Regions from separate parts of the Homo sapiens genome. Here all the other regions are linked to region 3. The links are contacts of gene promoters, found by promoter capture Hi-C in human tissues and cell types (Jung and others, 2019). All regions are on one chromosome and are shown on one strand. Each heading gives the region's core, a stretch centred on a gene start or on the middle of the fragment in contact. The rest is flanking DNA. Distances are from core to core; before and after follow the strand shown.

Region 1 (5,433 bases), core at 2,308-4,807, 240 kb before region 3:
TGTCTAAATTCTAGAATATAGGAGAGTTGAACTGGACAGCCTAATTCAATCCTACAACCTCTACTGAGCACCTACTACGGACCGGACAACAATAGAATCAAAGACAAATAAAATATAACATCTACTTGCTCCGAAGAAGCTCACAGTCATCCAGATGCTAAGGATGAATTGTGCTAAGGGGGAAAAAGTACTCTGGGAACCACGAAGGGGGAAGTCAGGACTCCTGATGCATGCCTGAGAAAGGTGTTCTCAGAGGAGCCACTAAGCCTTGAAGGTTGAGGATTGCATCCAGCAGGGACAGCCAAGGAGGGCAGTCAACGTCAGGCAGATCAAACACCCTAACTGTGAATGTGCACAGTGAGTTTAGAGAAGGGGAAAATTTATGGTGTGGCCGGGCTCCAGGTGCAAAGCAGGAGTGTAGTGCTACCAAGGAGAGCCTGGAAAGCCAAGCTTTACTCTGAAGACAGTGGCCTCCCACAATGGTCTTTAAGCAGGAGTGTGACAGTCCAGTCTCCCTGGCCCTTCCAGCTTGGATGGTCTGCAGTTACAGGAAAGCCATATAGCAAAATAATCAAAAGCAGGTACCCTGGAGCTGGGCTGTCCAAGTTTCAATCCTAGCTACCCACTAGCTGTGTGACCTTGGGCACGTTTCTTAACTTCTCTGAGACTCAGCGTCTTCATATCTAAATTGGGCATAATGAGAGTAAATGTATAACAGGGGTAACACACCTTGTAAGTCTGCATGAGGATTAGATGAGACAGGGTAGGTAAAAAGCTTGACCCTGTGCCTGGCTCATCTTGTAAGTGCCCACCAGGTTACCTTATGTTATCATTCTACCTTTAAAACCAAGGATCTGGGAACAGTTTGGAGGATGGATGGCCCTATTCAGAGAAAGTCTTCGAGGAAGAGAAGGCGAAGACAGGATAGAGGGTAAGGTTGCACTGTCTTCTTCAGGGGCTAAAAAAAACAATAGCAAGATGGCTGAGACCAAGAGCAAGACAGCGAAGAAGGCAGTCTGTCCACTGATAGGACAGCAGCAAGGAATGGGGAGGAGAGCTGGTGGCTGCCTGGAAACAGTTTTTAGGGAGAAGAGTCTGCATCTCTTAGGGGAGATGGCTGAAATCAGATCCATTTGATTCCCCTTTATTCAGGGCTGAGATACTAAATCAGTCAATTAGCAAAATCTGCGCACAAAACCTGGCAGGTTCCACATGGGCAGGCCCTCTCTGTGCCCTCAGCTGGTCTCAGGTCAAAGGCCTCCTTCCAGTACTTACGCTGGGCACAAGCCAGCCTGAGCCTGAAGCTATACCTCTCTGCCTTTGGCTAATATTCCATCACTGCCAAGCACTCCATGACTCTGTCTGCTGATCCTTTTGATGCCAAATTCAAAAGGGGAAGGGGTGTAACCTAACCATTCCAGAGCTCCCTGAGAACCTGTCTTAAGGAGCTCAAACTGATCTCTCATTTTAGGCTTTTTTCAAATCTTGTGGGAAGCTATTGATCTTTTCAGCCTGTGCCACCCTCAGGAAAATGCATTCTGGAAGTTTATTCTCCACTGGGTGGAAAATAAGGCATCTCATTTTATTTATCCTAAAAGCATTCCCTCTACAGCTTGATGGGCCACAGCTTCTGACATGCCGGATATCCCTCTCTTGCCTCTTCCTGGAGATTATTGATTTCTCTTACTTCTATCCCTAAAAGACAAACCTTTTTATCAGAAATGAGTGGTAGATTAGGTTCAAAGGCCTTGGCTTGAGGGCAAGCTTGGCCCTTACCAGCTGTGTGACCTAGGATAAAACACTTAACTTCTCAGAGCCTTGGTGTCTTTCATCCATAAAACAAGGCTGCTGGGAGGCTGGGGGGAGATCATGCCTGGGGACCCCAGTTGCCATCTCCAAAGTTTAGGCTCTCACTGTGGGACTTTCGCTGTGGGGAGCCCTTCCACGTTGCAAAATTGCCTGCATTTTCACTTTGCAAAAACCCTCTTGGTGCCTTGGTGCCATGTGTGACAAATGAGGACTTTGGTAATAGAATTTATGGGGAAAAATAAAGAATAAAAATATAAGACATATATAAATAAATGTCATTATTTCCAAAAGGTCTGCAATGTCCCAACCCCCAAATAGCCAAAAGACCCAGGCCAGCAGAGATCCAGGCCTGATGGCTTACAGGATAGATGAAGAGTTTTAAAAGAACCAGAGCCTGAGACATAAAAAGAAAAAAAAAAAAAAAACATGAAAATGGGATCAGAGGGTCGGGGGTGTGTGGGGAACTAAAAGAATCACTTTGTATTCAAGTTGCACAGATGGTCTTTCCAACAATAAATGGTTGTGCTCCCATCTTCCCAGCTCCTGGGCCTGAGACACCAAACCAAGACAATTAGCCCATCAGGAAAGAGGCCATTGTGTGCTTCTTAGCATGATTTATGTAGCAGGGAGGGGCTCGGCAATGCTTCCCGTGATTATAGCTCTCAAGTGCAATTTCCATAGCTTGTTCATCATCCTGGACAGCTAGGATGGACTGGGATGCTGGACAGCAGTGGCCATCAGGTCATGTTTCATCTTCTCGAGCCTGTGGAGCCAAATTAATTGTTCGATCGATTTGAGAGGCAGAGCAGCAATGGTGCTGTGGCTCACCACAGTCACTGCCCAGGGCCCACCAGGAACTGATGTCCACTTCCCTAACAGCCGGACCTGGGACCCTGATGTGAGCATCTGCTCGACTCAGCAGCTTGTCAGGACAGGCTGGGTGAAAAGTCCTGTCCCCAGGGCTGTGTGCTGCATTCAGACTGTCCATTTCTTTGTGGCCAGAGCTCCTGTCCTCTGCACCTGTCTGGTAGACAGAGGTAGGTCACCAGGTCCAGGAGAGATGAGCTTGCTGCCTTCCCAGACAGGCGAGTCTCCTGTGCCTCACATTCCCCTTAATGTCATTTTGTAAGGGAATCAAATGAAATCAAAGTGCAGCTTGCTGTCTGTGCAGACCCAGCTGCTCAGCCTCTCACAAATCCCCCCCGCGGGCTGAGCCCTGGCAGACAGAGATGCTGTGTATCACTGGTCCCACTTCAGGCAGCGTTTACTCCCTTGCTGGGTGGGGGGCATTGGTCTGGTCACGGGCAGATCCAGCCCATCCCCTGTTAGACTGTTGAGTCAATATGTCTGATCTTTCCTAGGTTGAGAGGAGGATAAGTGGGAAGTAAGGGGTGTATTCTCTTCTAGGCCACCATTTTTGGGGTTCAAGTGGCCATAGCAGCTGAGCAAGCTCACAGGGGCACAAGAACCTTTCTCTAAAGATGCCGAGGTCTTACACAACACAAAGAATGTCCAAGGTCAGGGAACCTCTCTGGCCTCAGCCAGCCCTCAGCCTCTCTGACCCTCTTTTCCTATGCAAGTGACTCTAATCCTCTTGATACCCTTTTGCCCATGAGCCGTGTCCCTCAGACCTGCAGCCTTGGGCTTCCCTCCCTCTAGGTCTGGCAGTTAGATAAGAGTATGAGAGCTGCCCAACCCTGGGCTCCAGCTGGAGGTGCAGCAGGCAGTGAGTGGGCTGGGCTCAAACGGCTGTCCCCTTGGTTGGTCTTCCTTCAGCCCTGCGGCAGCACAGTCTCCACTAGAGCTGCTAGGCCACCCCCAGCCCAGTCCCTGGCCCTCGGAAGCCCCATGGAAAGCATGCGAAGTCAGTTTCCAGGGCACTGTGTGGCAGCTTCCTATCACAATGCTCAGCATGGGACAGAAAGACAGCACAGCAGCCCCTGCTAAGGCCTGGGCAGCAGTGAACTCTCCCACCTGGGCCAGGCTGAGCACTCACTGCCCCCAACTTCCAGGAACACTCCTAGAACTCAGCACTGCCCCCACTATCCCCCACGAGGCCTGGCCAAAAGGTGGCTCTGTGGGGAAGGTCCTAATCCTCACTCACATCCACTGAGAGAGGGGCCATTGAGGAGGAGGGTAGGCAGGGGGATGGGGCAGGGAGTCATCTCTTCTCCAGAGCCTGGCATTCAGGCATCCACTTCCCCAGCCACCATCCAGGACAAGCCACCAGGACAGTCCTCACCTAGAGAACTGAACGAGCCCCCTAACTGATCTCACACCCACTTGGGCCCCTCCTATGTGTAAACGGATCTTGTAAAAATGTACTTGCAACTCCCTTCCTCAAAAGCCTTCAATGGCTCTCCAGTGTATCTAGAATGAAATCAACAAGACATCAACTACCTCACCCACTGTGTCTTGCACCTCACTAAGCTCCAGCCACACTGGCCTGCTCGCCATTCCTCCAGCCCACTGAGCTCCTTCCCATCTCAGGGACTCTCCACGTGCTATTCCATCCACCGCGAACACTCTTCCCCAAGTCCAGGACTGGCTCCTTCCTCTCCAGCCCACAAGTCTCGGTTTAAAAGTTATGTCCTTCCCCATCCCCACCCCCACACACAGCACTCTAAGTACAATTCCCTCTTAAAGAAATCTGTGTTTTTTCTTTCATAGATGATCACAGCTTGCCATCACGTGTGTGCACGTGTGTGTGTTGGTATTGACTTATTTAACGCTCACTCCCAGCTAGACTGAAATCTTGATGAGAGCGAGACCATATCCGACTTTTTCTCCACAGTATCCCCAGCTCCTAGCATAGAGCCTGGCATAAAGTAGATGCACCCGAAATATCCATCGAATGAATGAGCCAATGTGTACAGGTGGAAAATGAGTGGATGGGCGGAGATGTCCTCTGGCAGCAGCAGATCATGGCATTGTTCTTCATCAGGGTGACCTCTCCCAACCTCTCCTGCTGCCCCCAAGGCAGGTCCGGGAGCCACCACTGGAAGCCCAGATGTGGAATGTCCTCCTCCTCCTCCTCCTTGGAAGGAAGAAGCCTCTGAGTCCTCTCCTCTTGGGACTTTCTGCTGCCAGTCTCTGCATGCCCACAAGGCCTCTCACACCATTGTGGTCCTTCTGTTGACATCCACATGCACCCTTGGGACCACTCCCTTCAGATGACCCTAGACCCACCATCTTGGTCCTCTGTTTCAGGTCCAGTTGAGGTGAGGTTACTGTGTGGTAGGGGATGCCCAAGAAAGGGTTAAGTTGCCAGAAGCAGAGTCCCGCCCTTGGGTTTGCTCAGCCAATCAGAGTCTGTCCTGGTGAGGTAAAGCTTCTATCCTGGGTGGCATTGGTTGAGTTGACCGGCCCCATCTCCTGCTGGAGAGAGCCGAAAGGGTGGAGTTTCTGTGGAACCAGACAGAACTGGAATTAGCTCGCTGTCTACTCAGGCCGGGCTGCCTGACTGCAGGACCTGCCTCTGTTCCTTTCTAAGGCACTCACACACCCTGGCATCTCCAGGGCTGTCTCTAGTGGCCCCAGTGGAGATGACAAGGTGGCACGCACCTCACCGTCACATCTGGGAGAAGTCTTAGAGCCAGAGCAGACAAGGAGGCCTCAGTTTCC
Region 2 (5,031 bases), core at 1,860-4,359, 190 kb before region 3:
TGGGGTCAGACCATAGCCTCTACAGTAAAAGTCCAACCAGATAAACAGTGGAGGCATGGGCAAGAGGCTTCCTGCAGCCTGCACTCTAGCAAGTGCTCCTGAGAAGTCCCTGCACCCAGCAGGCTGATAGCATTCTCAGTAGCAGGGGCCACCAAATACCAGTACTGATGCCGCTATGCAGGAAAGGAGGGAGGGGGCAGGTCCTGGGAAGGGAAGCTGAAGGGGGTGTGCAGGTACCTCTCAGCGGCCGCAGTCGCCGCCTGGCCACCTTCAAGTGCTTGGTCCGGCCCAGGTGCTCCCCTAGGAGGTAGTACCAACCACTGATCTCCTGTCACGAGAGAAGGAATGGCACGCTCAGACACAGGAGGCAGAAGCACAGGTCAGGCAGCCACCAATCCCCCTCCAAAAGTAGCCACTGGACACCCACCCACAGGAGAGACAGACTCTCCAGCCTTCCTGGCCCCGAGCTGCCATGCCTGCACCTCCAGGAAGCCTTCCGTGATGCTCAGGGCAGATCTGGCTCTCCCCTCTGCCAAATTCCCACAGCCTCTTATCCCTGGAGGACAACCATCTACTTGCCTGTCTCCCCCACTAAGTTGTGCACAGGCTCTTTGATGTGCCTCACACTATGCCTGGTATACAGTAGGAGCCATATTTGTTGACAGAACAGAAGTGAAGGAGTGAAAGAGGGATGGAGAGACCAAAAGGCATCCTGTGGCTCCTGAGCAGTCTCCAGGGGGAACATCTTTTCTAGGAGAATGAAGCCAAGGCTGCAGTCAAGAGAAGCTCTAGACCGGGCGCGGTGGCTCACACCTGTAATCCCAGCACTTTGGGAGGCCGAGACGGGTGGATCACCTGAGGTCAGGAGTTTGAGACCAGCCTGGCCAACATGGTGAAACCCCATCTCTACTAAAAATACAAAAATTAGCCAGGCGTGGTGGCAGATGCCTATAATCCCAGCTACTCAGGAGGCTGAGGCAGGAGAATTGCTTGAACCTGGGAGGCGGAGGTTGCAGCGAGCCAAGATCACAACACTGCATTCCAGCCTGGGCAACAGAGTGAGACTCCGTCTCAAAAGAAAAAAAAAAGAGAGAGAGAGAGAGAAGCTCTTTAGGACTCACATGCAGGATAAAGGGTCCTCAGCCACCCACCCCAGGACAAAAATCTGCGTGGCAGGCCATGCCACAAGCCACCAGGACATTTCCAGGGATGTGCAAAAGGAGTGCTCCCCACCCTCCACCTTCCAGTTTGGGGAGTCCAGTGCAGCGTAGAAATTGATAAGGGACCAGTGACCCAGAGCTAGGAGTCTTGGGTCCCAAAGAGTCCTCCTCCAGCCTGAAGGAAAGCTCCACAGAGGATGGTGCTGCTCACTCCATCCTTGAGCACCTGTTAGGCCCAGAAATATCAGGCCTGGTAGACACATGAAGAGGACCCCTGGAACGGACCACGGGTGCACCTGGCCCTCATCTTCTGGGGCAGGCCCAGGAGTGCTCTGGGCCCCAAGGGATCTGCCAATGTCTTCAACAGCAGACACCAGACTCAGAGCCTCCTGGGAAGACTTGGGGCTGCCTAACAAACTGCTCTCTGGCAAGACAAACCAAGAAGGGGACCCAAACTCTCAGCTAGGCAGGTAATAAACACAGTGCTGCTATGCAGGCCACCCCACAGGGCACCTGTCTCAGTGGGGCACCATCTCACAGAGAGAAGCCCTGCCCAAGAGCTGACAGAGAAACTCTGCCTGTACCAGCCCCGGCCCAGTTGGGATGATCCTGACAGAAGCATCCCTAGGACCCACCTTGTCTGGAGTCAGGAGAGACTTCACCCCAAAGCTCATGCAGCCAATGAGTCCACTCTGTCTGGGAGAACAAGTGAGACTTGAGTCAGCATTTTTTTTCTGGGCTCTATCGGGAGGTCCATTATCAAGTATAGCATGGGTTTGCCTGATGCACTGTGGTTTACAAAGCTTTTTACCCACATCATCTCGTTTGATCCTTCTGACTCTGTGAGGCAGGATAGAGAGGAGCTATTATCTCCATTTTACAGAGGGAAAAATGGAGACTCAGAGTTGGTCCCTTTCCCAAGGTCACAGGACAAGTTCAGCACTGCCTCTACCAAACACAGAAGCTCAGCGGTACTTCATGAGTTTTAACCGTTCTGGTGCTAGGTAGATCTGAAGAGCTGGTCCCCACAGGGAACCTCCTTGCCCACATCATTGGTGATGCTCAGTGGAGGAGAACAGTTATGGGACCTCAAGCTCAAGAAGTTCTATCTCAGGTCCAGGAAGGAGCTGAGCAGTTCTTAGATGGCTACAGATCAAGGTCCAAACCAACCTGACACAAAAGCTGCTGAGACCAATCTGACCTGGCCACCAGCAGGGCAGGTAGGCATGGGCCAGGGTCAGGCCTCATGGGGATGTCAGACTATGGCGAGGGGCTAAATTCAATCTTCTTGGTTAAAAAGAATTCACAGCTGGGCACGGTGGCTCACGCCTGTAATGCCAGCACTTTGGGAGGCACAGGCAGGCAGATCACTTGAGGTCAGGAGTTTGAGAACAGCCTGGCCAACATGGTGAAACCCTGTCTCTACTAAAAATACAAAAATTAGCCCTACGTGGTGGTGCATGCTTATAATCCTAGCTACTCAGGAGGCTGAGGCAGGAGAGTCACTTGAAACCAGGAGGTGGAGTTGCAGTGAGCCAAGATCGCACCACTGCACTGCAGCCTGGGTGACAGAGCCAAGACTCCATCTCAAAAAAAAAGAAGAAGAAGAAGAAGAAGAATTCAGAGTTCCTGAAGAATGTCCACCATTGAGGCTCAATGTCCAATAATCAGGGACTAAGAGTTGGCAGCTTTTAATAATGATGGCATGGGCCAGGTGCAGTGGCTCACACCTGTAATCCAGCACTTTGGAAGGCATCACTTGAGCCCAGGAGTTTGAGACCAGCCTGGACAACAAAGGGAGACACCATCTCTACAAAAAATTTTTAAAATAGCAGGGCATGGTGGCATGAGCCTGTAGCCCCAGCTACTGAGGAGGCTGAGGTAGGAGGATCACTTGAGCCTGGGAGGTCAAAGCTGCAGTGAACTGTGATTGTGTGTTACTGTTCCTCCCTCTTGGGAAGTGGCCAAGTCAGCACTAACAGGAGGCAGTTGCAGCAACAGAGCAAGACACTGTCTCAAAAAAATAATAATGATAACATCAGTTAATATTAATAAAGTCCAAAAATATCTTGATATTGTTAGAGAAAAAGAAGTTTACAAAGCTGTAAATTTAATGAGTAATGTGAGTTTAATGAGAAAGACACCCACAAAAATACTAACAATGGTCATATCTGGTAGGTGGGATTACTAGGGGTTTAATTTTCCTTTATGGGTTTTCACTGTTTGCATAGGGAACAAGTATCGTTTTTATAATCAGGAGAAAAAAAAAGACAGTATCAATATACTTTTAAGGACTTTTATTGTGCCACATCCTGTTCTATCCTGACAGTAAGAGTTTTTTTTTAATGTCATCTTTCTGTTCTCCTCTCTCTTACCCCATCCTCAACTTGGACTAATTCATAGGTTGGTTTAATAACTATTAATCAAGAAACATCGTGGATATTTAGGCTGGAGCATAACCCTGGAGGCTGGCTTCAATAGCTGAAGGACCCACATAGCTGAGAGATTTGGCATGTCCTATGGAAGGCACAATATCAAAACCAAAGATGGAACAGGCTTCTGGATAGGTAGTAAACTCCCTAGAGATGTGTTTTCCAAAACCTGGTCTAAGGGGGCCTGAGCTAGAGCAGTGGTTCTATCCAGAAGTGTACCACAAAACCACCTGAACAGCCTGTCTGAGGTATATGCTCCAGGACTTCTTCCTGAGAACCCAAAATTAGTTGGTCCAAGGTGGGGTTCGAGCATGGGAGCCTGGAGAAAGCTCTCCAGGGTATCCTGCCAAGCACCCACTTATGCCTGCCCCAGTCAAAGACCAGTGATCTAGAAGGTCTCAAAAAAGACATATTGTTCAGATTCTCCAGAAAGCGTGGCAGCTTACCACCGGACAGTCCTAAGCAAAACAAAACTAGCTTCTCACAGGCAGCCAAGTCAAGCGAGGGGTGGGGAGGCAGGATGCTGGGGGATTGCTCCTCAAAACTGGTCCACCTGCCTGCAAACCCATGCTCTGCCCCATGGCCCAGAGCTGAGGCCCCTGCTTCTGGCTGTCTCTCAACAGCTGCTCTCAGTTCATCACTCCTGCTCCCAGCTCCTTCAGCCTTGGCTCCATCTGCTGCCTTCTTCCTTGCCTCTCTCATCATCCAAGGCTCTATTAATAATCTATTCAAAAAGGACAATGCTCTCACCCCAATAAAGTGCCCTTCCACATCCACCTCCCCAGCCCACCACCAAAAACAAATACTCCTCCCCCTTGGGAAGTAGCCAAGTCAGCACTAATAGGAGGCAGTTGCAGTGACTATCATAAACAGCCAAAACTAATCTGAGCTGCCATTCCAGAAAAGCCTTGGCAAGACTTTGCCAAAGTCCTCATACCAATTTCATTTTATTTGTCACACATTCAAGAGAACTCCAGCTGCTATCCAGGTGCCCATACTACTCTGTTGTACACTTCTTTCCTACTGGGTAGGGCTGAAACTTTCAAAGTCTCCAGGCCAATGCATTAGCTCAGCAACCTCTCTCTGCTCTTCACTAAGCGAAATCTTCATTCCCTGGTGTTTAGAGAATGTTAAATGGTTAATAGCCTCCCTCGAGTTTTACTTCCTGCTAAGGGGCCTCCCATGCTTTCATGGTAACTCAGGCAGCGTAAATTGCCACAATTAATGTCCATAAGCAGGAACCTCTCTCTAAGTGTTCTTCAATTAGCTATTTCTTATGCCTGCTTTTGAAAAATCTTTGGAGGAAGAAAGACTTCTTTTAAAGCAACCTGAGTATATGACAATACAGCAGTCAGTTTATAAACTTGGGAACTAGCGCTCACCCTCGGGAGTGCCTGAACTCTCACTAGATGCAAAGTCTCCGGAACCAAGCCTTGGTT
Region 3 (5,172 bases), core at 2,062-4,561:
TCCTTCCCCTCCCTCCCTCCCTCCCTTCCTTCCTTCCTCCTTCCCTCCCTTCCTTTCTTCCTCCCTCCCTCCCTTCCTTCCTTCTTCTTTCCTTCCTTCCTTCTCCCTCTCTTTTCTTCTTTTCTTTCTTTTTTTCTTTTCTATCTTTCACAGGGTCTTTGCTCTGTTGCCCAGGCTAGAGTGCAGTGGTGCAATCTGGGCTCACTGCAGCCTTGACTTTCTGGGCTCAAGTGATCCTCCCACTTCAGCCTTCTGAGTATCTGAGACAACAGGCATGTGCCACCACGCCCAGCTAATTTTTTATTTTTTTATTTTTTGTAGCAATGGGGTCGCTAGTCTTGAACTCCTGGGCTCAAGCAATCCTCCAACCTCGGCCTCCCAAAGTGCTGGGATTATAGGCATGTGCCCAGCCAACATGCACCGTTTTTTTGTTTTGTTTTGTTTTGGTTTTGGTTTGTTTGTTTGTGTTTTTTTTGAGATGGATTCTCTCTCTGTTGCCTGGGCTGGAATGCAGTGGTGCAATCTCGGCTCACTGCAACCTCCGCCTCCCAGGTTCAAGCGATTCTCCTGCCTCCTTAGCCTCCCAAGTAGCTGGGATTACAGGCACCTGCCACCACGCCCAGCTAAGTTTTTTTTTTTTTTGTATTTTTTAGTAGAGACGGGGTTTCAACATATTGGCCAGGCTGGTCTCAAACTCCTGACCTTGTGATCCGCCTGCCTCGGCCTCCCAAAGTGCTGGGATTACAGGCGTAAGCCACCGTATCCGGCCAACATGCACCATTTTTAAGCTGCTTTCCCCCTCCATTTACAGTATACTGTGACCATTTTTAAAAGTCAATGAAAATCTTTCTATATCATTTTAAATGATTATGTAGTTTTTCACCTAATTGATGGGGTTTTGGAGTGTTTTCAATCATTTGTGATTAAAATAAAACTGCAATGAATATCCTCACTCAACCAAAATATATCTTTTTGATGCTTCTGGGGAATTACATGATTAGGTCAAAGTAGATGAACTTCTTTATGTTTTCTTATGTTGCCAAGCCAGAAAGCGTGACTTCCAAACTCTCAAATACAAACCAGGTTCTTTGGACTAAATCAGTGTCTCGAATCCCCAGTAACCTCAGTTAACCAGTAGTGACACCGAAAAGCAGGGAATTCCAGAGCTGAGAGGAACTTTGAGGCCATCGGTGATCATATACCTCGTCTCCAGCTCAGAAAGAGGAGAATTACTTAGACATTTTCTTTAGAGATCTAAAACTTCCCAAAGTCCACAGTTTTATTTTCACACAATTCTAGGCTAACTTAAAATCAGCATTTTTGCATTATTCTTTCATTCAATATTTATATATTTATAATGAGGGGGTTAGATCAATAGGGGATTGGTGAAGTGATTTATGGTACAGCCATTCAATGAAATCTGATACAACCATTAAAAAACCGAAGAAGGTCTTCTTTTTTTTTTTTTGCTCTGTCGCCCAGGCTGGAGTGCAGTGGTACAATCTCAGCTCACTGCAACCTCTGCCTCCCAGGTTCAAGCGATTCTCCTGCCTCAGCCTCCTGAGTAGCTGGGACTACAGGTGTGCACCATGACGCCGGCTAATTTTTGTATTTTTAGTAGAGACGGGGTTTCACCATGTTGGCCAGGCTGGTCTTGAACTCCTGACCTCAAGTGATCCACCCGCCTTGGCCTCCCAAAGTGCTGGGATTACAGGTGTGAGTCACAGCGCTGGGCCAAAAACCGAAGAAGGTCTTTATGTACTAATACAGAATGATATCTCAAATACATCATCAAATGAAAAAAGAAAAATGCAGAACAGTGTACATAATATGCACATTTGTGTAAAAAGGAGGTAAAGGAATACATAGATGTTTTGCCATGGACATGCTGTTTGTGTATGTATAAAACATCTTTGGAAAGATACACAACAAACTGATAGTATAATACTTTGATTTCCAGGGAAACTAGGTGGCTGCGAAGAGACAGTTTTCACTGTGAAATCAAACCATTCACATGCTCAACCATGTAAATATATTACCTATTTAAAAATCAAATGTGGGCACGGTGGCTCAAGTGTAATCTTAGCACTTTTGGCAAGTGGATTGCTGGAGCCCAGGAGTTTGAGACCAGCCTAGGCAACCTGGAGAAACCCCATCTCTACAAGAAATACAAAAATTAGCCAGCCACGGTGGCATGCACCTGTAGTCCTAGGTACTCAGGAGGCGGAGGTGGGAAGACTGCTTGACCCCAGGAGGTTGAGGCTGCAGTGAGCTGTGATCGTGCCACCGCACCCCAGCCTGGATGATAGAGTGAGACTCTGTCTCAAAATAAATCAATACATAAAAATTAATGTAAAAAAACACAAAATGCGGGGACTAGGGCATTTGATTACATCACCAAGCAGATACATTTATTTACTTGTTTATTTCTCAAGTATGGCTGAAAATGTCAGTAAAGAAATAAGGGGCCAGGCGCGGTGGCTCATGCCTGTAATCTCAGCACTTTGGGAGGTCGAGGCAGGTGGATCACCTGAGGTCAGGAGTTTGAGACCAGCCTGGCCAACAAGGCGAAATCCTGTCTCTACTAAGAATGTAAAAATTAGCCGGGCATGGTAGCGCGCACCTGTAGTCCCAGTTACTCGGGAGGCCGTGGCAGGAGAATTGCTGGAACCAGGGAGGTGGGGGTTACAGTGAGCCAGTATCGCCCCACTGCACTCTAGCCTGGGCGACAGAGCAAAACTACGTCTTAAAAAAAAAAAAAAAAAAGAAAGAAAAAAAAAAAGAAAGAAAGAGAGAGAGAAAGAAAAGAGGACCATAGGTACAAAAAGAATTTGAGCGGGAACAAAAGATGGGCCACGTGAACAGACCGGTTATAACAATAATAGTTCTGGTTAACATTTAGCGAGTTACTGTCTGCCAGGCCCTGTGTTATTACGCGATCTCGACACGTATTACCTCATTTAATCTACAGATCAAGTAGGTAGGTTATTATGGCCATTTTCAGGTGAGGAAACTGAGGCTGGCAGAAGTTAATTAATTTGCTCAAGTCTCCATCGGTAGTTAAACGGAGTTTGGATTCTCAGTGAGGGCTGAACTCTGACCTAGAAGTGTGCCTTGCTTGAGAACCCTGGCTCTTCAGGCAGACGCTCAACCGTCTCCCGACTATTTTTCTGCTGTATTAGTGGCCGCTTTTGTCAGTATTTTGCAAGAGCTATCTGTATTTTGGTTACAGGGACTCAGCATAGGGAAGGATCCATCTCGGCAGAAGCCAGGAGTCGAGGCAGGTCAGCGCACAGAGGACAGTGGAATCCGAGGGGATGGCAGGAGATCAATCGGACCCAGAACAGAGGCCTGCAAGGATGAGCGCACTTGATCCCCTCAGAGAAAAAGCCAGAGTGACTCACAGGAGAAAGACAAAGCAACCAAAGCTTCCAGGGTGTACAGGAGGTCCAAAGTCACCAGAAGGAAGAAGAAAACCTGAAACAGCGAGAGCTGGCCAAACGCTGCTAAGACCTATGCAAATAAGACCCACCCACGCTACCTGGAAATCGGGCCTGGGAAGTCAGAAAACAAAGCACATGCGTGCAGGGCTGCACGAACGGAGGCGGAGGAGGCGGCTCCGAGGGAGCAGGTAAGGAGACAGAGAGGGTCGCGGAGGGACGGGTCACAGGGCTCCAGAGTCCAGAGAGGCAGCAGCCGTGCAGCGCGCGACAGGTGAACTCTGGCCTGGGAGGGCAGGCTACTGGGTTCATCTTTCAAACTCAGCCACTCTTTAGCTGGGAAGACTTCGGCAAGTTGCCTCACCCTTCTGAGCCTTGGCTTCCCCATCTAGAAAATGGGTCTAAAAATAATCATGCTAACTCTGTATTGAGCGCCTTCCGTATTCTACTGGGCACCGTATAGACTATTCCTTCCCCAGAGCAACCTTGTAGGAGTGGGATGATTAGCCTTTTTTACAGAGGAAAATGAAGTTCAGAGAGGTTAAGCCATTTGTCCAAGACAAATTGTTCCAAATCTGGTTCCAAAGCCGGCACCTTTCTACTCCCCATTCAGCCTCTCTCACAGGGTGGTTTTAGAGTATCAAATGGCTTTCTGCAAACAACAACAAAAAATCCCAAAAGGCTAGTAACCTATCTAGATGGATCACCACACTTAGATCTTAGCAAGGGCCAGGGCCCTTTGTAAACTGTGAAGTGCTATGGAAATGCCAGTTCTTGGTTGAAAACAATGGAGTGATGCTGGGGACAATTGATATTTGGCGATGACTTGTTCATAGACCAAGGAGATGACTTTGGGGCGGTGTTTAGGATTTACTGTAGCTGAGATGTCCTGGCTTGGGGTGGAGGTGATACATGGCCAGAATCTCTCCCCAGCTGATCCTGAAACAGCAGTGGATCCCTGGGAGAGCAGCACAGATAAAGATCCAGGCAATAATGATGCTTCCTCCTCTTGGACAGCCTTTTACAGTTCTGGCCATGGAACTTCAGAGAAGGTAGGTCTGATTTGGGGGGAAACAGGAGATCTTGACGTGTAGTAATACAAGCTTACTGGATGGAGTAAAGTTAGAATTTTCAGGTAAGAGAATTAAAAAAAAAAAAAAAACTTATAATCTTGCCCCCAGAGATAACCACTGCTAATATCTGGTTGTTTATCTCTCCAGACATTTTTTCCATTGCACACACACTTTTGGAAATTGGATTATATGGTAATATGGTTTTGTTGCTGGTTCTTTTTCGCTTAATGACATTATATCCTAGGTATATATCCATATTAATAGTTTTACCACATCATATTAAAGGCTGCATAATATCTCTTCCTATGGATGGAGCAGAATCTACTTAATCAATGTCCTATTACTGGATGATGACGTAGTTCTCCATACGTCACCGTTAAACCAGCGCCTGGATGGGCATCTCTTTACTCACATCTTTGCAGAAGTCCTTGATGGTTTCCGTGGAATCGATTCCCAGTGGGGGAAATGATGAGTCAAGGTTACATACAGTTTACGGCCTCTGGTAAGTATTAAAGATCTGCTTCTAACACACTCTGGGATTCAGGGGCTTCTCAAAGCTTGATGCAGAGGACTTTGTCACGGCTTTGAAATCAACCTTGACCCTTCCTTTCTCTCAAATCCATTTGCATTAATAATTTCAACTGCCTCATATATCCATA
Region 4 (5,199 bases), core at 2,145-4,644, 170 kb before region 3:
TGTCCAGTCTCCTCATTTTGTAGCCAGAACGGTCATGCCTGAGATGGAAGGTGATTTGCTCTGGGCCCAGAGAATCCAGAGCTGGAGATTAGAACTCTACCCCCACTCCAGCACTCTTTCCTGTGCACAGTCTTCTGGAACACCCACAGCCCTCTAGCACGCACCTCCTCTGCTGTGCCCACTGCGTTTGCCAACACAACCTTCAGATTCAGAGGTAGAGAGAACCATCGGGGACAGCACCAGGTGCCACAGCTTTTCTCAAGAAACCAAGAGGTTAGCTGAGCATAGTGGCACATCCTATAGTCCCAGCTGCTTGGGAGGCTGAGGTGGGAGGACCACTTGAATCCAGGAGGTTGAGCCCACAGTGAACCATGATCACACCACTGCAACTCCAGCCTGGACCTTGGGGAACAGCGTGAGACCTGTCTCAAAGGAAAAAAAAGAAAAAGAAAAAAAATAGAGGGCAGCCTCCTAGAAATGTCTCCAATCTAGAGAAAGAAACCTCCAGGTGAAGGGGAAGTAGGGCTGAATCCCTGGAGTCTTCAGCTCACCGAAGCACCAGCTAATTTGGCATCCTTTCAGAACACCCCCCCCACCCAACCTCCCTCCACAGATACATACCCTATGTATTGTTCTGAAATTTGCTTGTTCCTTTAAAAACTTGTCTTTGTGGGGTGTGGTCGCTCATGCCTGTAATCCCAGCACTTTGGGAGGCTGAGGTGGGAGGATTGCTTGAGTCCAGGAGTTTGACACCAACCTGGACAATACAGCAAGAGCCCTTCTCTACAAAAAATTAATTAAAAAAATAGCCGGGCACCGTGGTGCGTGCCTGTAGTCTCAGCTACTTGGGAGGTTGAGGCAGGAGGATTCCTTGAGCCCAAGAGGTTGAAGTTGTAGTGAGCTATGATTGCACGACTGTACTCCAGCCTGGATGATAGAGCCAGACCCTGTCTCAAAAAACAAAAACCTAAAACTTTTCCCAATAATATTCTTGCTCCTACACCTCTGTTTTTTTCAACACTCCCCATTCCTCCCTAGACTCAGGGAGCAGTCAGGCTAAAGGGCTTGAAGTCATCCTCATCGAGGTTGGGCAGGGCCTTTGGACAGGGCATGTCCCCTGTTCCCATGAGATCGCAGTTGGGCACCAACACTATGTGCAAAAGGTGGTGGTGATGGATGCCCAGAGAGGCTGCAAGTGTGTACCAGGGCCCAGAGCCAAAGGGAGAATAGACAGGGCCCCATATGGCAGGAAAAATACTGGATGGGAATGAGCTTCAGAAAGCCTGGAAAAGGCAACAAACCCAAATTCTGCTGGGCACAGGACTTGAAGGGCTCAGACTTACTGGGCACTTTTAAATGGATGTGGACACCAGCTAAAGAAATTCAGTCTGGCAGACAATACTCAGTAGAGAACCACAGATGAACTCTAACCCACAGGCCACAGTCAGAAAGAGACATACTCAGAAAATAAAGGAAGTAGATGGGGACTGCACACCTTTGCTAGACTCAGGGATCAGCCGGAATGTGTCCCAGTGGGAGCCCATGCCACCCTGAGATGTGCAGAGAATACATCTATGATGGACTTGCCTGGCTAGCATGAAGCAGCAGGCATCCTAAAATCCAATTCACCCCAGAAGCCGCTGCCCATTTAAGAACTGTCACATGTTAAAAGCTACAGGAAGGGTGATGATATCCAGACAAACATATGAAGGCAGTTGGGTCTACATGGAGCCTAGCCAGCCGCTAACATCCACAGATTTCCCCTCCGTTTATGAGGACACGTCTGTACTCAAGTCTTCCTCGCAGGAGGGAGGGTGCCCAGCCAGATGCCAGGCACGCCCTCTCTCTGTGGTCTTCAGCTGCCTCATCCACACCCCAGCCCTGATCCAGGCTCAGAAATGGTTAAGCATGTGTTTACCAATTTCACTGCCTGCTTGATCTAAGGGAGAAATGGTAGGCTGCAGTGGCGCTGGGAAACAGGCAGCCACACAGCTCTATGGACATAACCCAGGAGAATTTCCCATGGCTACTGTGTTAAAAGAAGGAGAACCCTGAGTTCCATTCAAAAAAGTGGCCCTGGTTTGCGAAGGTGAGGACATAGGACACACAGCACTGGCATAAAAATTGTGATGGGTCAGTTCAATCCCCTGGCCTCTCTGCTTCCTGTGAAAGCTGATATTAATGTAGTTTCCCAAGCTCTTTTTCCTTACAGAAAGAGATTGCTCCGGCCAGCATAAGTCTTCTAGTCTACTCAGAAATTCTATTTTTCAGCATAAACTAATAAATTAGCATTCAGTCTCTTGATAATTTAGATTCCCATGGATCACTCACAAGGGATTCTAGGTCCGTCCTGGGCAAGCTGGTAAAATAAAACTCCTGAATCTACTGCAGTCAGCATCTAATCTTGGCTGGATCATAACACCACTAGCAGTCCTGTGGGGCTCAGATCCAAACATCCTACAGGATTCACACACATCTCAACCCAGAGTTCAGGGCCATAGTGAACTACCAGGCTAGGCACACACATGGAGAGAACAAAGTCAATGTTTCTTAGATGTTTACTAGGTACTCAGCACTTTACTATAAGCTTTTTATTTCTTTTACTCCTCACAATAACTCCGTGAAATGGTTACTACTTTTATCCCAATTTACAGGCAAGGAAGCTGAAGATTATTAAGAGGTAAACAGGTTGGCTGGGCATGGTGGCTCACACCTGTAATCCCAACACTTTGGGAGGCTGAGGCAGGATGATCACTTGAGGCCAGGAGTTTGAGACCAGTCTAGGCAACATAGCAAGACTCTGTCTCTCCAAAAACGTTTTTTTAAAATTAGCCGGACGTGGTGGTGTGTACCTGTAGTCCCAGCTACTCAGGAGGCTGAGGTGGGAGGATCACTGGAGCCCAGGAGGTTGAGGCTGTAGTGAGCCATGATCACACCACTGCACTCCAGCCTGGGCAACAGAGTGAGACCCCAACTCAAAAAAAAGAAAATAGCTAAAACAGGTTGTCCAAATCACACAGCCAGTAAGTGGCAGAGCTGGGGTTTGCATTTAGGCAGTCCAGGGCCCCCACTGTTAGCCTCTCTATACCTATCATGGGTTTAAAATTTGTCCACAAAGTCTTTGATACTCTTCCTTTCAAGAGGTGAAGCCTAGTTCCTCCCTTCAGACATGGGCTGGACTTAGTGACTTGCTTCTAACAAATAGAATGTGGTAGAAATGACAGTGGATGACTTTCAACATTAGGATATTAAAGGTATTATTAGTTCCTTCTTTTTTTAACAGCTGTATTGGGATATAATTAACATATCATACATTTCATCAGTTTTGTTTATTATTGAGATGGAGTCTCACTCTGTCGCCCAGGCTGGAGTGCAATGACATGATCTCAGCTCACTGTAACCTCTGCCTCCCAGGTTCAAATTATTCTCCTGTCTCAGCCTCCTGAGTAGCTGGGATTACAGGCATGCACCACCCACACCTGGCCAATTTTTTGTATTTTTTGTAGAGACAGAGTTTCACCATGTTGGCCAGGCTGCTCTCGAACTCCTGACCTTAGATGATCCACCCGCCTCAGCCTCCCAAAGTGCTGGGATTGAGCCACCGTGCACGGCCACACTTCACCAATTTAAAGCATGTAATTTTCTTTTAGTATATTCACAGGATTCTGTAATCAATCACCTCTATCTAATTTTAGAACATTTTCATCCTCCCCTAAAAGAAATCCCATACTCTTTCGCAGTCACACCCTATTCCCTTCTCCCCTCAGCCCTTGTCAACCACTAATCTGCTTTCTGTCTCTAAGGACTTGCCTATTCTGGATACTTATGTAAACAGAATCACACAACGCATGGTCTTTTGTGATTGACTTCTTTCACTTAGCATAATGTTTTCAAGGTTCACCCATATTGTAGCACGTATCAGTATTTTAGTCCCTTTGTGGCCAAATAATATTCCATTGTATGGATATACCACATTTTGTTTATCCACTCATCTGGTGATGGATATTTCAGGTTATTTCGACTTTTTGGCTACTATGAATAATGCCGTTATGAACATGTGTGTGTGTACACATGTTTGTGTGAGCATGTGTTTTCATTCCTCTTGGATTTATACCTAAGAGTGGAATTGCTGGGTCAAATGGAAACTCTACATTTAATTGTTTGAGGAACCGCCAAACTTTTCCAAAGTGGTTGCACCATTTGACATTCCGGCCGGCAGTGTACAAGGGTTCCAATTTCCCCTCAACTTCTTCAACGCCTGTTATTGGCTCTTTTTTTATTATAGTCATTCTAGTATGATAGTATCTCATTGTGGTTTTGATTTGCATTTCCCTGATAACTAATGACATTGAGCATTTTTTCACATGCTGTTAGCCATTTTTCTTTGGAAAAAAATGTCTATTCAAATCCTTTACCCATTTTTGAGCTGGGTTACTCATCTTTTTATGGGAGTTCTTTCTTGCTTTCATTTTTGTATCACTTGCCTAGAAGGAAGCCAGCTGCCACATAATAAGGAAGCTCAAGCAATCCTACGAAGAGGTCCATGCGATGAGAAACAGAAGCCTCCTAATTACAGGTAGCAAGGAACTGAGGCCTCCTGCTGAGAGCCATGTGAATGAGCCATCTTGGAAAGGGACCCTCCAGCCCCAGTAATGCCTGCTCGGACAACTGCAGGTAGGCAGGCAGGCAGGGAGAAAGAAAGGAGGGACGGAGAGAGAGAGCGGGGAGGGGAGGAAGGGACGGAAGAGGCAGGGAGGGAGGAGAAAAGGAGGGAGAGAGGCAGAAAGGGAGGGAAAAAAAAACAAAAACCAACTCAAAAAAGCTTAGAAAATATATGTAGGGGACTTCCATTTCTGGGATGACAGATCCACTGAGGAAAACTAGAAATGCTAAACAAAATATGTTAAAGCATCTTCTTAGATAAACAACAAGAGAGAGAGGAGCTACCAGGCAGGATCTAGGGGAATGGAGGACTGTAGAAGGAAACCTAGTGTTTTTCTGGGCTAATTTCCTCCTGGGGTGTTTTCAAATTCCAGAGGGCTGATTGAGAGATCAAGAGACTGAGTGAGTTTCTGCCTGCTTCTCAGGGCTAGAGGAATAGGAACTAGGGACCAGGGCCCACCAAGAAGCAGGGTTCTTCTGAGCCCCACCTTTTGCATAGGGACCCTGAAGGGTTGCTCCATAGGAATAGAGTGAACT

Evidence for each region. The method cuts DNA at HindIII sites, captures the fragments that hold promoters and counts their contacts. A contact is called where the count stands out against the background at its distance.
Region 1: a contact is called between a fragment that was not itself captured here and the fragment with the promoter of RNF183 in region 3, in 4 of the 25 tissues and cell types used here (liver, mesendoderm cells, spleen and 1 more).
Region 2: a fragment that was not itself captured here is called in contact with the fragment with the promoter of RNF183 in region 3 in 2 of the 25 tissues and cell types used here (IMR-90 fibroblasts and mesenchymal stem cells).
Region 4: a contact is called between a fragment that was not itself captured here and the fragment with the promoter of RNF183 in region 3, in 2 of the 25 tissues and cell types used here (IMR-90 fibroblasts and spleen).

Annotation. Positions count from the first base shown.
Region 1 is chr9:113,541,101-113,546,533 of GRCh38, reverse strand. The region is part of intron 17 of RGS3 (regulator of G protein signaling 3); the gene reads right to left. Among named protein-coding and RNA genes, the nearest start is that of RGS3, 80 kb to the right of the region's middle. RefSeq lists enhancers at 3,162-3,677, 3,678-4,193, 4,918-5,417. The HindIII fragment of the contact is 4,573 bases long and covers 1,271-5,433 here.
Region 2 is chr9:113,492,611-113,497,641 of GRCh38, reverse strand. It overlaps RGS3 (regulator of G protein signaling 3), which reads right to left. Exons shown (of 23, transcript NM_001394167.1): 6 at 1,796-1,856; 7 at 238-328. Among named protein-coding and RNA genes, the nearest start is that of RGS3, 31 kb to the right of the region's middle. The HindIII fragment of the contact is 6,530 bases long and covers 1-5,031 here.
Region 3 is chr9:113,301,515-113,306,686 of GRCh38, reverse strand. It overlaps RNF183 (ring finger protein 183), which reads left to right and starts at 3,311. Exons shown (of 5, transcript NM_001371237.1): 1 at 3,311-3,631; 2 at 4,374-4,492; 3 at 4,936-5,015. RefSeq lists an enhancer at 871-1,040. The HindIII fragment of the contact is 15,296 bases long and covers 1-3,986 here.
Region 4 is chr9:113,471,179-113,476,377 of GRCh38, reverse strand. The region is part of intron 1 of RGS3 (regulator of G protein signaling 3); the gene reads right to left. Among named protein-coding and RNA genes, the nearest start is that of RGS3, 10 kb to the right of the region's middle. The HindIII fragment of the contact is 5,234 bases long and covers 778-5,199 here.